Regions from separate parts of the Homo sapiens genome. Here region 2 is linked to region 1. Evidence: promoter capture Hi-C in 16 types of primary human blood cells and fetal thymus (Javierre and others, 2016). All regions are on one chromosome and are shown on one strand. The core of a region is centred on a gene start or on the middle of the fragment in contact, and the rest is flanking DNA. Distances in the headings are between cores, read along the strand shown. Region 1 holds the start of LCP2 (lymphocyte cytosolic protein 2). Region 2 overlaps KCNIP1 (potassium voltage-gated channel interacting protein 1).

Region 1 (5,540 bases), core at 2,847-5,346:
GGGCGTGGCGGCATGTGCCTGTAGTCCCAGCTACTCGGGAGGCTGAGGCAGGAGAATTGCTTGGACCTGGGAGGGGGAGGTTGCACTGAGTAGAGAGGGCACCACTGCACTCCAGCCTGGGTGACAGAGTGAGACTCCATCTCCAAAAACAAAAACAAAGAAAAATCATTCCTATTCCATGAGCCCTGTTTCTGTGTAGGAGCAGAATGTTGTCTTTTTTTTTCTTTTTTTTGAGAGGGAGTCTTGCTGTGTCACCCAGGCTGGAGTGCAGTGGTGCCATCTCGGCTCGCTGCAACCTCCGCCTCCCAGGTTCAAGCAATTCTGTCTCAGCCTTCCCAGTAGCTGGGACTATAGGCACTCATGCCACCACGCCTGGCTAATTTTTGTATTTCTCGTAAAGGCAAGGTTTCACCATATGGGTCAGACCAGTCTCGAACTCCTGACCTCAGATTATCCACTCACCTTGGCCTCCCAAAGTGTTGGGATTGACCCACAACGTGACTCACAGGCATGACCCACTGTGCCCAGCCCCTAGAATGTTGTTTTTATTCTGCTCAGAGGTTGTTTACCTTTTCCCAAATCTTGAGCTATGCATCACAAAGCCTAAGAAGGCCTCTGTAACCTCGTTCCTCGTTCGTACCTGCGGAGTTCTCCACCTGGTTGGGGGAGGGAGACAGACATGGGCGAGGGTATCCCCACCACTGCTTCAAATCACTATGCCCTACTGGATCCCCACCCTCTGCTCTGCTTCATGCTTGAAGCCAACAGACAGATGCTGTACACCCAGCTGCTGCCCCTGGCCTCCATGGTCATGGCAGCCACGCTGTCGGGGGCTGTACCCAGAGGCTGCTTTCATGGCCGCCCCATTTTGGAGGTGAGGGGCCTGCGGCTGAGCCTGCACAGGGTCACAGTGGTCCTTCTGGTCTCCTGAGTCTCTCTTGGGGGCTAACTAGCCCGGTCTCTGGAGCTTCAGGAACCCGCCAGCCAGAGACAGGAGATGTGAAACTCGTGAGTGTTGGGAAATCAGCAAGGCCTGGGGAAGAGGAAAGCCTCCAGGCCTGAAGCAACATGCTTCCCCTTGCACCAGCTGCCCTTTCTGAGGAATGGGCCTGTGGTTCTGTGGGGAGGGGGCACCAAGTGCCCGCCTCATGCAGAGTGCTGCATCCTTTACTGAGCTTGTTCAGATTGACAACCTCTCTTTCTCCTCACCAGAGGCCACAGAGAAGAAACTGCGCAGGCTCTGGAGACAGACTGGGTTTGAATCCCAAGTCTACCTTAGGCAGTTTCTGTAACATCTCAGAGCCTCAAGGTGGCAAATGGCCAAGGACAGGGGCTCTGGACTCAGATCAACTTTGGAAGAGTCCTGGATTCACTCCCTACTTGCTGGGTTCAGGGGGCAAGTAGTTCACCTCTTGGAGCCTCAATTTTCTCTTCTGTAGAGTAGGAGCAACAATAGTGCCAACAATTAAGACAGTCAGTAAGAAGTTCTTAGCTTGTGCTCTCTGGACCATAGGAAGAGCTCAAGGCATCGTGTCTCTTTATGTTTCTCAAAGTCACCATTATTGTCATCCAGGTTTCTTAGCTGCTTTGTCTGTCTTCTAAATGAGCTCCATGGATCCTCCATCTTGGCCACATTAATTGGATAATTCTTTCTAAAGGAGCCTAATATTTAGTGATACCTTCATTACAACTGCTTTTTTGTAGATTTTTCTTATCCTGAGTGGGGTGAACATCATTAAGAAAATTAGGCCAGTCTTGGTGGCTTACACCTATAATCCCAGCGCTTTGTAATGCCAAGATGGGAGGGTCGCTTGAGACCAAGAGTTCAAGAACAGCCTGGAAAACAAAGCAAGACTCCATCTCCACAAAAGAGTAAAAATAAAAAAATTAGCCGAGCATGGTGGTGCATGCCTGTACTCCCAGCCACTTGGGAGGCTGAGGTGAGAGGATCACTTGATCCCAGGAGTTCGAGGCTATAGTAAGCTATAATTGTGCCACTGCGTTCCAGGCTGGGCAATAGAGGGAGGCCCCATCTCTAAACATAAAACAAAAGCAAATAAAAAGGAGAAATTAAAATAAAATAAAGTAAAATTGCTTCTACTTTTAAGGATGATCTGGAATGTTCCTTTTCATAGGTGGCATGTGTTTTGAGAGATAGCGAGAGAGAGATTGATTGATCCACGTCAGGAATGCCCTCCCTTTTACTCCATCCTCCACGGCCCTGCTTAAATCCCAGTTAATTCCATGACATCTTCTGTGCTTACTCTACTTCAAAGTGATTTCTCTCTCTCTTTCTCTTCAAATGGCTTTTTATTGTTCACTGCTATGCTAGTGATTTGAAAGACCAGGTGACCTCTCACCCGTGATGGAGCTTTTGTACAGCAGAGCTGTGCTTTATACAGAATGATCAGCTACAAAGAGCTCTTAGGTGCGGCCCAGGCACAATGGCTCACGCCTGTAATCCCAACACTTTGGAAGGCCTAGGCGGGCAGATCACCTGAGGTTGGGAGTTCCAGGCCAGCCTGGCCAACAGGGATAAACCCCGTCTTTACTAAAAATACAAAATTAGCTGGGCGTGGTGGTGCATGCCTGTAATCCCAGCTACTCGGGAGGCTGAGGAAAGAGAATCGCTTGAACCTGGGAGGCAGCGGAGGTTGCAGTGAGCCGAGATGGCACCATTGCACTCCAGCCCGGGCAACAAGAGCGAAACTCCGTCTCAATAAAAAAAAAAAAAAAAAAAGAAAGAAAGAAAGAAAGAGAGAAAAGAAAAGAGTTCTTAGGTGTGAGGCCCTGCAAGGAGCAAATGGCCTGGGCTACCTTCACTGATGCCCTCAGCACCTTCTAAGGTGAGGCTAACACCAGCTCACATTGATGAGCTAGTGCTGGGCCTGGAGCAAAATGTGTATTTCATTTAAGCTGCCCACCAGCTTGTGAGGCAGGTGCATTACCGTGACGGCGGGGCTCCTCAGAGTGTGTATAAGAAGAAAACTGTGCATGGCCAAAGCTATGCTTGAAAACCCTCAGGAAGGCACCACCTCAAGGACCAACATAGCATCACTTAGTAAAGGCAACAGCCTTGGAACAGATGACTCGTGTGTGTGTGTGTGTGTGTGTGTGTGTGTGTGTGGCATTAGATGAAGTAGTAACTTGTGTTTAGAGGTTGCCTTATTGCACAAATATAGTTGCTTTTATACACTGGACTCACCCTCTGCCAATAAGTTGTTCAGTTATGAGAAATGAACAATGTCTGAAACTAAGAAAACAGCAAATTCTCACCTCCTATCTCCAGGGAATGTGCTCTTTGGCTAGAATATATGGCAGAATCAATAGTGAATAAAATATATTGTGGAAACAATAGTGAATGGAATATATGACACTACCAATAGCAATTGTTAAGTTTTTTTTCTTTTTAATTTTTCTTTTTAGGTTTGTCTAGTTGAATGCATCTAAGTTTTATGTGCATATGAAGAATCACTGTTTTCCTATTATACAGATTTGGAAACTGAGATTCCCAGCTTTTAACTCCTTGCCTAAGGTTGCATAGCACAGAAATAGTCATATCAGAAACTGAGCCCTGTCTGCACAGTGTAGCACCTTGTTCAGCCCTGGGTGCCTGACTCACTCACTCCTTGAGGACCCTCTCATGACAACTGTAAAGAGGCAGCTGAAAGAATCCCAGTCTTTGATGGTGGGAGGGGAAAGTGGTTGGAAAGCATTAAAAAAACATGCTCCAGCAGTTCACTGATGTGGGAAATTGTCTGTATTTCAGGTCAACCGTCAGGATAGATTTTGGTCTGCAAAGCCCCAGCTGAGCAAGAATGCAGTGTAGACATATGGGTGCCCAGAGTTTAAAGGAAAATTACTCAGACTCACATTGGAGTTTAAGACCCCTTCATTGCCTCTCCTACTGGGTTGGGGTGACTGGAGCCAGTGGGGAATTACCAACCCTGTGGCTCTCTCTGCATCTCAAGCCTCCAGAGCTGGGCTTCCTTGTTTACTTATTTAGAGCCCAGCAGAGGAAGTGGTAAAGGAAACTAGCTGAGTCGTTTTCTGAGAAGAGACCATATTTGTTCGCAGAGGAAGCCGTTGCTTTCTGGGATCTGGCTACGCCAGAAAAGACATCGGCTCCAACAGGGGTGTTCCACAGGGTAGCTGGGAGTTGGAAGAGCCAAGAACGCCTCCGAGCTCTGGATTTGAGCTTCTCTGCCCATGGGTGAAGCGCCCATGCTCAGCTTGTGAGCTTCTTCCCGGGAGAGCAGCCATGGCACTGAGGAATGTGCCCTTTCGCTCAGAGGTCCTGGGCTGGGACCCCGACAGCCTTGCTGACTATTTCAAGAAGGTAAGCCTTGCTCTTGTGTGAATGGTCATGATGCTAGTGCCCTTGGTGGGCTGAGCTGAGGCTTGACGATGGAATTGGGGCAGAATGTGGGAGGTGTATAAGATAGCAATGGAACCCTATGGCAACTTTACTGGTTGAGTGAGCGCCATATAGACCGCTGAGTTTTCCTGACCATGAGTTCCGGAGAGAAGGATGGGAGCAGAAGCCCTCAAATGAGTATGTGCCTATTATGTGCTAGGGTTTGAATTCGGTGTCTCACAGGCACTGTCCCATTTAGCGCTCCCTACTATGTTGTGAGGTCAGCATTGTTATCCCCTTGACTCAGCTGCAAAATCAGCTCAGGGAAGTGAAATGGTCCGAAGCCCTAGGGACTACATGTGATAGAGGCAAGACTCAAGCCACACCTATCTGGTTTTAAAGTCCATGCTCTGAGATGCAGAGAACTGTTGTAACTGCTAATGAGATCAACGCTACTTACTAGAAAGGGGAGACGTGGTGTCCTGGAGGCAGGAGAAAGAATAGGCAGGGTGGGAGGGCTGGATAGAGGACTATGATGAGCAGTGCCAGACACAGCATTTGGGCTTTCACTGCTCACGACCCTAAGGGGGGTCCTCAAGCTCCCGCCTGGGGCAGTCTCCTTGGAGCCTTATGAGAGTCTTGTGAAGCAGGACAGAAAACTGATGTGAGCCCCAATTTATAGCTATGAAAACTGAGGCCCCTAGAGGAAAAGAGGCTTGTGGCGGTGCTGGGACCAGAGCGTTGCTGTCTTATCTTCTGGACTTAGAGGAAAGGTTGAAGGATCCCTGTGCTTGGTCATTGGCAGAAGGGGACAACGCATCTGCTTGGGCAGATCTCAAGCCACATGACTTAGTTATAGTCCCTCTACCCTGACCATGTGGTAAGATGACTTGTGCGAGACGGTTAAGCTTCTAACACCCTCATCCCTGCAGGCTGGCATCGGATTCTGTTGATATTCCAGACTGTCATAAAGATGAGATTGTAAAGCTAAGATGGTAGAAGTCATCTAATTCAGCTTCGTGTTTTTCCTGGGGAAATTGAGATTCAAGAGGGTAGACGAGGTTCCCTAGGACGTATAGCCAAACCTGGGGTCTATGCATTTCCGAGGCATTTATAGTCACAGCTGTTCTCCCCCAACCTGAAGAAGAAAATGAGAACATGTTGAACTAGGTGTGGTATGGTA
Region 2 (5,840 bases), core at 126-2,625, 320 kb before region 1:
GTGTGGCTGAGCTCCTGCTGAGAATAGATTTGGAAGGGCTGGAGGCTCAGGGCCCCCAATGTAAGACCTCCCAGTGTCCAAATGAGAACCTTTTCCTGAGTACTTGGGCCCCGCACTTGACATCATGTGCGTTAGTCTTCAGGCCACCAGAAGGGGGCAGCGCCGTCACGCCATTTTGCAGAGCCTTGATAAGCCCATTTGGAGTTCAGCCCCTCCCGCCATCCTCACTATCCCTTTTCGTCCCAGACTTCTTTACCTGAAACTTCATGAAGCACTTTTCGCATCGGTTTCGTCTGAGGGGAGAGGTTGGGGAAAGGAGGGTGTATTTGCCTCTTAGGGTCACCATAACAAAGTATCACAGGCTGGGGTGGTTTAAGACAGGGGTCCCCGGGCAGGTCGTGGTGGCTCACGCCTGTAATCCCAGCACTTTGGGAGGCTGAGGTGGGCGGATCACTTGAGGTCGGGAGTTCAAGACCAGCCTGACCAACATGGAGAAACCCCATCTCTACTAAAAATACAAAAATTAGCCAGGTATGGTGGCGGGTGCCTGTAATCCCAGCTACTTGGGAGGCTGAGGGAGGAGAATGGCTTGAACCCAGGAGGCGGAGGTTGAAGAGTCGAGATCGTGCCATTGCACTCCAGCCTGGGCAACAAGAGCGAAACTCCATCTCAAAAAAAAGAAAAAAAAAAAGACAGGGGTCGCCAATCCCCTGGGCCACGGATGGGTCTGTGGCCTGTTAGGACCCCGGCTGCACAGCAGGTGAGCTGGCGAGCAAGCATTACCGCCTGAGCTCCGCTCCTGTCAGATCAGCCGCCGCATTAGGTTCTCATAGGAGCATGAACCCTATTGCGAACTGCGCATGCGAAGGATCTAGGTTGCTCACTCCTTATGAGAATCTAACTAATGCTAATGCCTGATGATCAGAGGCGGAACAGTTTCATCCTGAAACCATCTCCCACCCCACACACCCTGTCCGTGGAAAAATTGTCTTCCACTGAACCAAAACCGGTTTCTGGTGCCAAAAGGGTTGGGGACCACTGGTTTAAAGCAACAGCTACTTATCCCTTCCCAGCTCTGGAGGCTGGGAGTCTGAAGTCAGGGTGTCAGCAGGGCTGTGCTCCCTCCAAAGGCTCTAGGAAAACCCTTCCTAGGCTTCCCTGGCTTCTGGTGGCCCCAGACACTCCTTAGCCTCGCGCTGCATCCCACTAACCTCTGCCTGTCTTTGCACACAGCCTTCTTCACTGCCTCTCTGTATCCACTCTTTTTTTTTTTTTTTTTGAGACAGAGTCTCACGCTTGTCACCTAGGCTGGAGTGCAGTGGCGCGATCTCGGCTCACTGCAACCTCTGCCTCCTGGGTTCAAGCAATTCTCTTGCCTCAGCCTCCCGAGTAGCTGGGATTATGGGTGCTCACCACCACACCCAGCTAATTTTTGTATTTTTAGTAGAGACGGGGTTTCACCATGTTGGCCAGGCTGGTCTTGAACTCCTAACCTCAAGTGATCTGCCTGCCTCAGCCTCCCAAAGTGCTGGGATTACAGGCGTGAGCTACTGGCCCCGGCCTGTATCCCTTCTTTTTATAAGGACATCAGTCACTGGATTTCGGATAGACCCCAAATCCAAGATGATTTCATCTTGAGACCCATAACTGAATTAAACTTGCAAAGATGCTATTTCTGAAAAAGGTCACATTTGAAGGTTCTGAGTGAATATGAATTTGGGAAGGACGCGGCTCCACCCACCACAGACGGAATCTTGATTGAGAACACATTTTGCTCCAGGGACCGTGCAAAGCACCTTCATCCTTGACAAACTGGAAGGGAAGCAGTATTATTTCCAGTTTTGTTGTTTTCTAGACAAGGAAAGTGAGGCTCAAAGGGATTCAATGACTTGCTGCAAGTCACACGGCTGCTTGCAAGGGGAACTGGGACTGGAACTCAGGACAGCAGACTCCACACGTCTCTATACTGGCTTATGAGCAGCTTGAGGACAGAGGTTTTGGTCTTCGTCGTTCCATCTCTCTTCTCCTCTCATTTCTGGGCCTAGTGCTCTGCATACTGATGGCTTTGAAAACTGATAAAAAGAAGGGAATAAGGCCAGGTGCAGTGGCTCACAGTTGTAATCCCAGCACTTTGGGAGTCCAAGGCGGGAGGATCACTCAAGCCTAGGAATTTGAAACCAGCCTGGGCAACACAGTGAGACCCTGTCTCTACAAAAAATTGAAAAATTAGCTAGGCGTGGTGGCATGTGCCTGTGGCTCTAGCTACTTGGGAGGCTGAAGTGGGAGTCACTTGAGCCCAGGAGTTTAAGGCTGCAGTGAGCTATGATGGTGCCAGTGCACTCCAGCCTGGGTGACAGAGCAATAAATCAATACATAAATAAAAATAAAAATAATAAAGAGGAGTATGACTGACCTGCAGAGATTCAAGTGCTGACCCTCATGGCTGCTGGGGTGCTCACAGATCTCCCCCACACCACACTCTGTGGGGACAAGTGAGAATGCCCTCTCTTACTACCTTGCTGCATCTGCTCCACTGAGGAACGTTGCAGCCCCTATAATCTTAGATCTACACTAGCCCTGGAAAGCAGGAAGGGCAGCCATAATGATGATAAAAATCTCAACCACAGCTGCCATTGATCAAATGCCTACTGGCCTACAGGGTCTAGGCCAGACTGTTTCTATGCCTAATGTCTTGGAATCTCCAGGGCAGCCCAGCTAGGTGACCCTTAGTATCCCCATTTTGCAGATGGGAAAATCGAGGCTCAGAGAAAAGAGTGTGACTTTGGGAGCTTGGAAGAAGTTGAGCTAGGATTCTGGCCTGAGTCTCCCTGAGTCTGGAGTTGGTGTTCTTTCTGGGGCCTATCTTGCTTTTTCTCCAGCTTCCCTGCCACAGCTTCCCAGTGTGACCAGTGATGGACACCTCTAACACATAGCAGACTCCCTCAGTAAAGGGAGGAGATGGAAGGATCCTGGAAGCAGAGCATACAGGCTGTCAGTCAAGAGGATACCTGCATCCTTGGGGAGGGCCCTCATGCCTCTTTGAGCTTTAAATGATTTAAGAGGGGGCAGAAGTCATTTCCTGGAGATCCAATTAAGGCAAATGAATTTGCATCTCCTAAATCGGCTCACAAAAATCTTGACATGCTCCCAGTGGATTTGGGGGTGAGTTTAGGAGGGTTGAATACCCAAAGAAGATTTTTTAAATTAGTCAAGATGCTTTTTGTTTTATTTCTCCAAAAATTCAACCTGATACGGCTTTAAAAATAGAGAGAATCCATTACATGGAACTAAGAAGTCCATAGATCAGGCAGGCATCAGGCACAGTTTGAGCAGGACTTTGGCATCATTTTCTGTGATGCGTAGCCCCTCCCCAGGCAAGTTTTGTTATCATGGCTAGTTCCCTCATGGTAGCACAATGGCTGTAGCAGCCCCAGCCCTTACTTTTGCAATAAACTCCTTCCAGAGAGAAAGAAAGCATCTCTTTCTCCATCCAACAAACCAGATTTCTGAGCTTAAATCTTATCGAACTAATTTAGGTCAAGTGCCTTTCCTGTACTAATGATGAAGGCCTAGAGAACCAATGGAATTAAGCTGCTGGGTTCAAGCCCATCAGAGCCTATTCCTGGAGCTGGGAGTGGGATGATTCCATCTCAACTGCTACAGGACAGGGAAAGGTTGGTGCATGTGTTGGAAGACACATCAACATCCACTACAAGGCTCTCTAGGGACAAGGGAAGTGGAACTGATATTCTTTGAGCACCTGCTATGAACTAAACCCAATGCATTTTGACAACATATTGCATGGTAAATAATTTTACTTCCATTTTTGAGATGAGTCAACGGAGACTGAGAAGTTTGTAGCTCATAACACTCTTGAAGTTAGTAAGTGGTGGACTATGGGTCCAAACCTTGCTCTTGGCATCTTCTGAAGGGTTTCTGGCTCTGTTGCCTCTCTCTCCTTCTTCAGACCCCTCAACCCTCCTTGAAGTTGGAGAGCTGTGATTGGGGGATGCTGACATAGTGATCTGAGGATTTCTAAAGGTGGACAGAATCCAGTGTTAACAGTGCCAGGAATTTGCAGAATATGCTAATTTTCCCTGGCACCATGACTCAATATTCTCCTCATCAGATTGTTTGGCAAAGGTACCAAGAAGGCAAGAAGTTTATTAAGGTCCCATAACAACTAATTATGGGCCAAGAACAGCAAGAGCCAGGAGGCCTGAGTTCTAACTATCTCTTATCTCTGTTGCTTTAAAATGTTCCTTGTATCCTGGGCTAAAGTGTTTCTGTTTTTGGCACTGATGGATGCTGTGGGCACCTTCATCCAGGCTTCTTTGATGGGTCTCATTTTGGTCAAGACACCTTCACCCCAGGTCTGATTTTGAGCTCCTTGGGGCCTTCCAGAAACTCATTCCAATCTAGCAGACCTCCTTACCTGCCTCCTACCTGAAGGCTCCTGGCAAACCTTTGTGTCCTTCGGGGTCTTACATCTCATACCTCCCTTAGGAGGGGCAGGACTCATTTTCCCTGGGGGACAGAAGGGGAAACTGAGGCTCAGAGAGTTAAGCTTCTTGCCCAAGGTCATGATACCTGATGACCAGAGACAGGCTGTGAACTTGGGTCCATCAGACACCAGTGTCCAAGTGTGCCTCTTCTGTGTGGGGCACTGGGAAGAGATTTGAAGGGAAGATGGCATGCCATCTGTGTTCTGAAGGATGAGGGAAAAGTTAAACTATTAAGTGATTCTTTCATTGATACAGGGCTTTTCAGATTAGTGTGTCATTGCCCATGGAAGCATCCATTCATTCAGTTATCCATCCGTCTCTTCAACAGCTGTTTATGGAACACTTACCATGTGCTAGGCACTGAGGATACACTGTTGAAGAAACACACACAGTTTCCCTGCAGGGACCTTCCTTCCAAAGCTCTGAGAGCTTGGGAGGGTCCCCAGATCTAGACAGTGTCCCCCATGACTGCAGCTCTCCATATAGAGCTCAGTAGGAATGTGCTGTCTTCTCTATACCTTCTATTAGAAGGAAAGAAGAGAAGGAAAGAATGAAGTAAGAAAGAGGACAGAAACCCTGTCTTTATAAAGGGCTATGCTCTCATTATATAATGTCTCAACAGTAGTGAGAGACACACCAGATGTCAAATCATCATTCCCATTTGACAGACTAGGAAACTGAGGCTTGGCCAAATGATGTGATTGGTCTAAAAAATCACACATATTAAGTGAGTGACATTACTAGGATTCACTTTGGTCCCCAGACTCCTCAGTTACATTGCCCTTCATGCCAATCAGATGGCAAAGGGGAAAATGTCAGTTAGCTCCCTCCCTCCCTCCCTCCCTCCCTCCTCCCTCCTTTCCTCCCTCCCTCCCTCCCTTCCTTCCTCCTTTCCTCCCTCCCTCCCTTCCTTCCTTCCTTCTTTCCTTTCTTTTCTTCTTTCCTTTCTCCCTCCCTCTCCCCCTCCCTCCTTCCCTCCCTTTCTTCCTTCCCTCCTTATAAGAGATATAGAGAAGATGATGCATTCTTGCTAGGCTCTATGTGGAGAGTTGCAGAGTCATGGGGGACATGACTTTGCAACTAGACCTAGGGACCCTCCTGAGCTCTCAGAACTTTGAAACCAAAGTCCCTTGCAGGGAAGCCGTTAGCATGCCTGCAAGTCATTGCAGCCAACCCAGGGTTTTTAATCAGGCAGCATTTAAACCATCCCATTTTGTCTGTGATTACGCCCGGATGTTTACATCATTTATAATGAGACAAATTGGGACAAATTGCCAAGGACACTTATGTAAATGAAACCAGCAGAAATGCTCCCATCTCCAGTGGTCGGTTGGA

Evidence for each region. Contacts are between HindIII fragments. The CHiCAGO score rates a contact against its expected background, and 5 or more counts as called.
Region 2: a contact is called between a fragment that was not itself captured here and the fragment with the promoter of LCP2 in region 1, in 1 of 17 cell types (M0 macrophages). The highest score is 6.2, in M0 macrophages.

Annotation. Positions count from the first base shown.
Region 1 is chr5:170,296,333-170,301,872 of GRCh38, reverse strand. It overlaps LCP2 (lymphocyte cytosolic protein 2), which reads left to right and starts at 4,096. Exons shown (of 21, transcript NM_005565.5): 1 at 4,096-4,339. The coding sequence starts at 4,262. RefSeq lists an enhancer at 4,914-4,993. The HindIII fragment of the contact is 7,744 bases long and covers 1-5,267 here.
Region 2 is chr5:170,618,062-170,623,901 of GRCh38, reverse strand. All of the region lies in intron 1 of KCNIP1 (potassium voltage-gated channel interacting protein 1), which reads right to left. It overlaps LOC124901132 (a long non-coding RNA gene), which reads right to left and starts at 5,310. Exons shown (of 2, transcript XR_007059045.1): 1 at 4,436-5,310; 2 at 3,798-4,035. RefSeq lists an enhancer at 43-337. The HindIII fragment of the contact is 6,388 bases long and covers 1-4,569 here.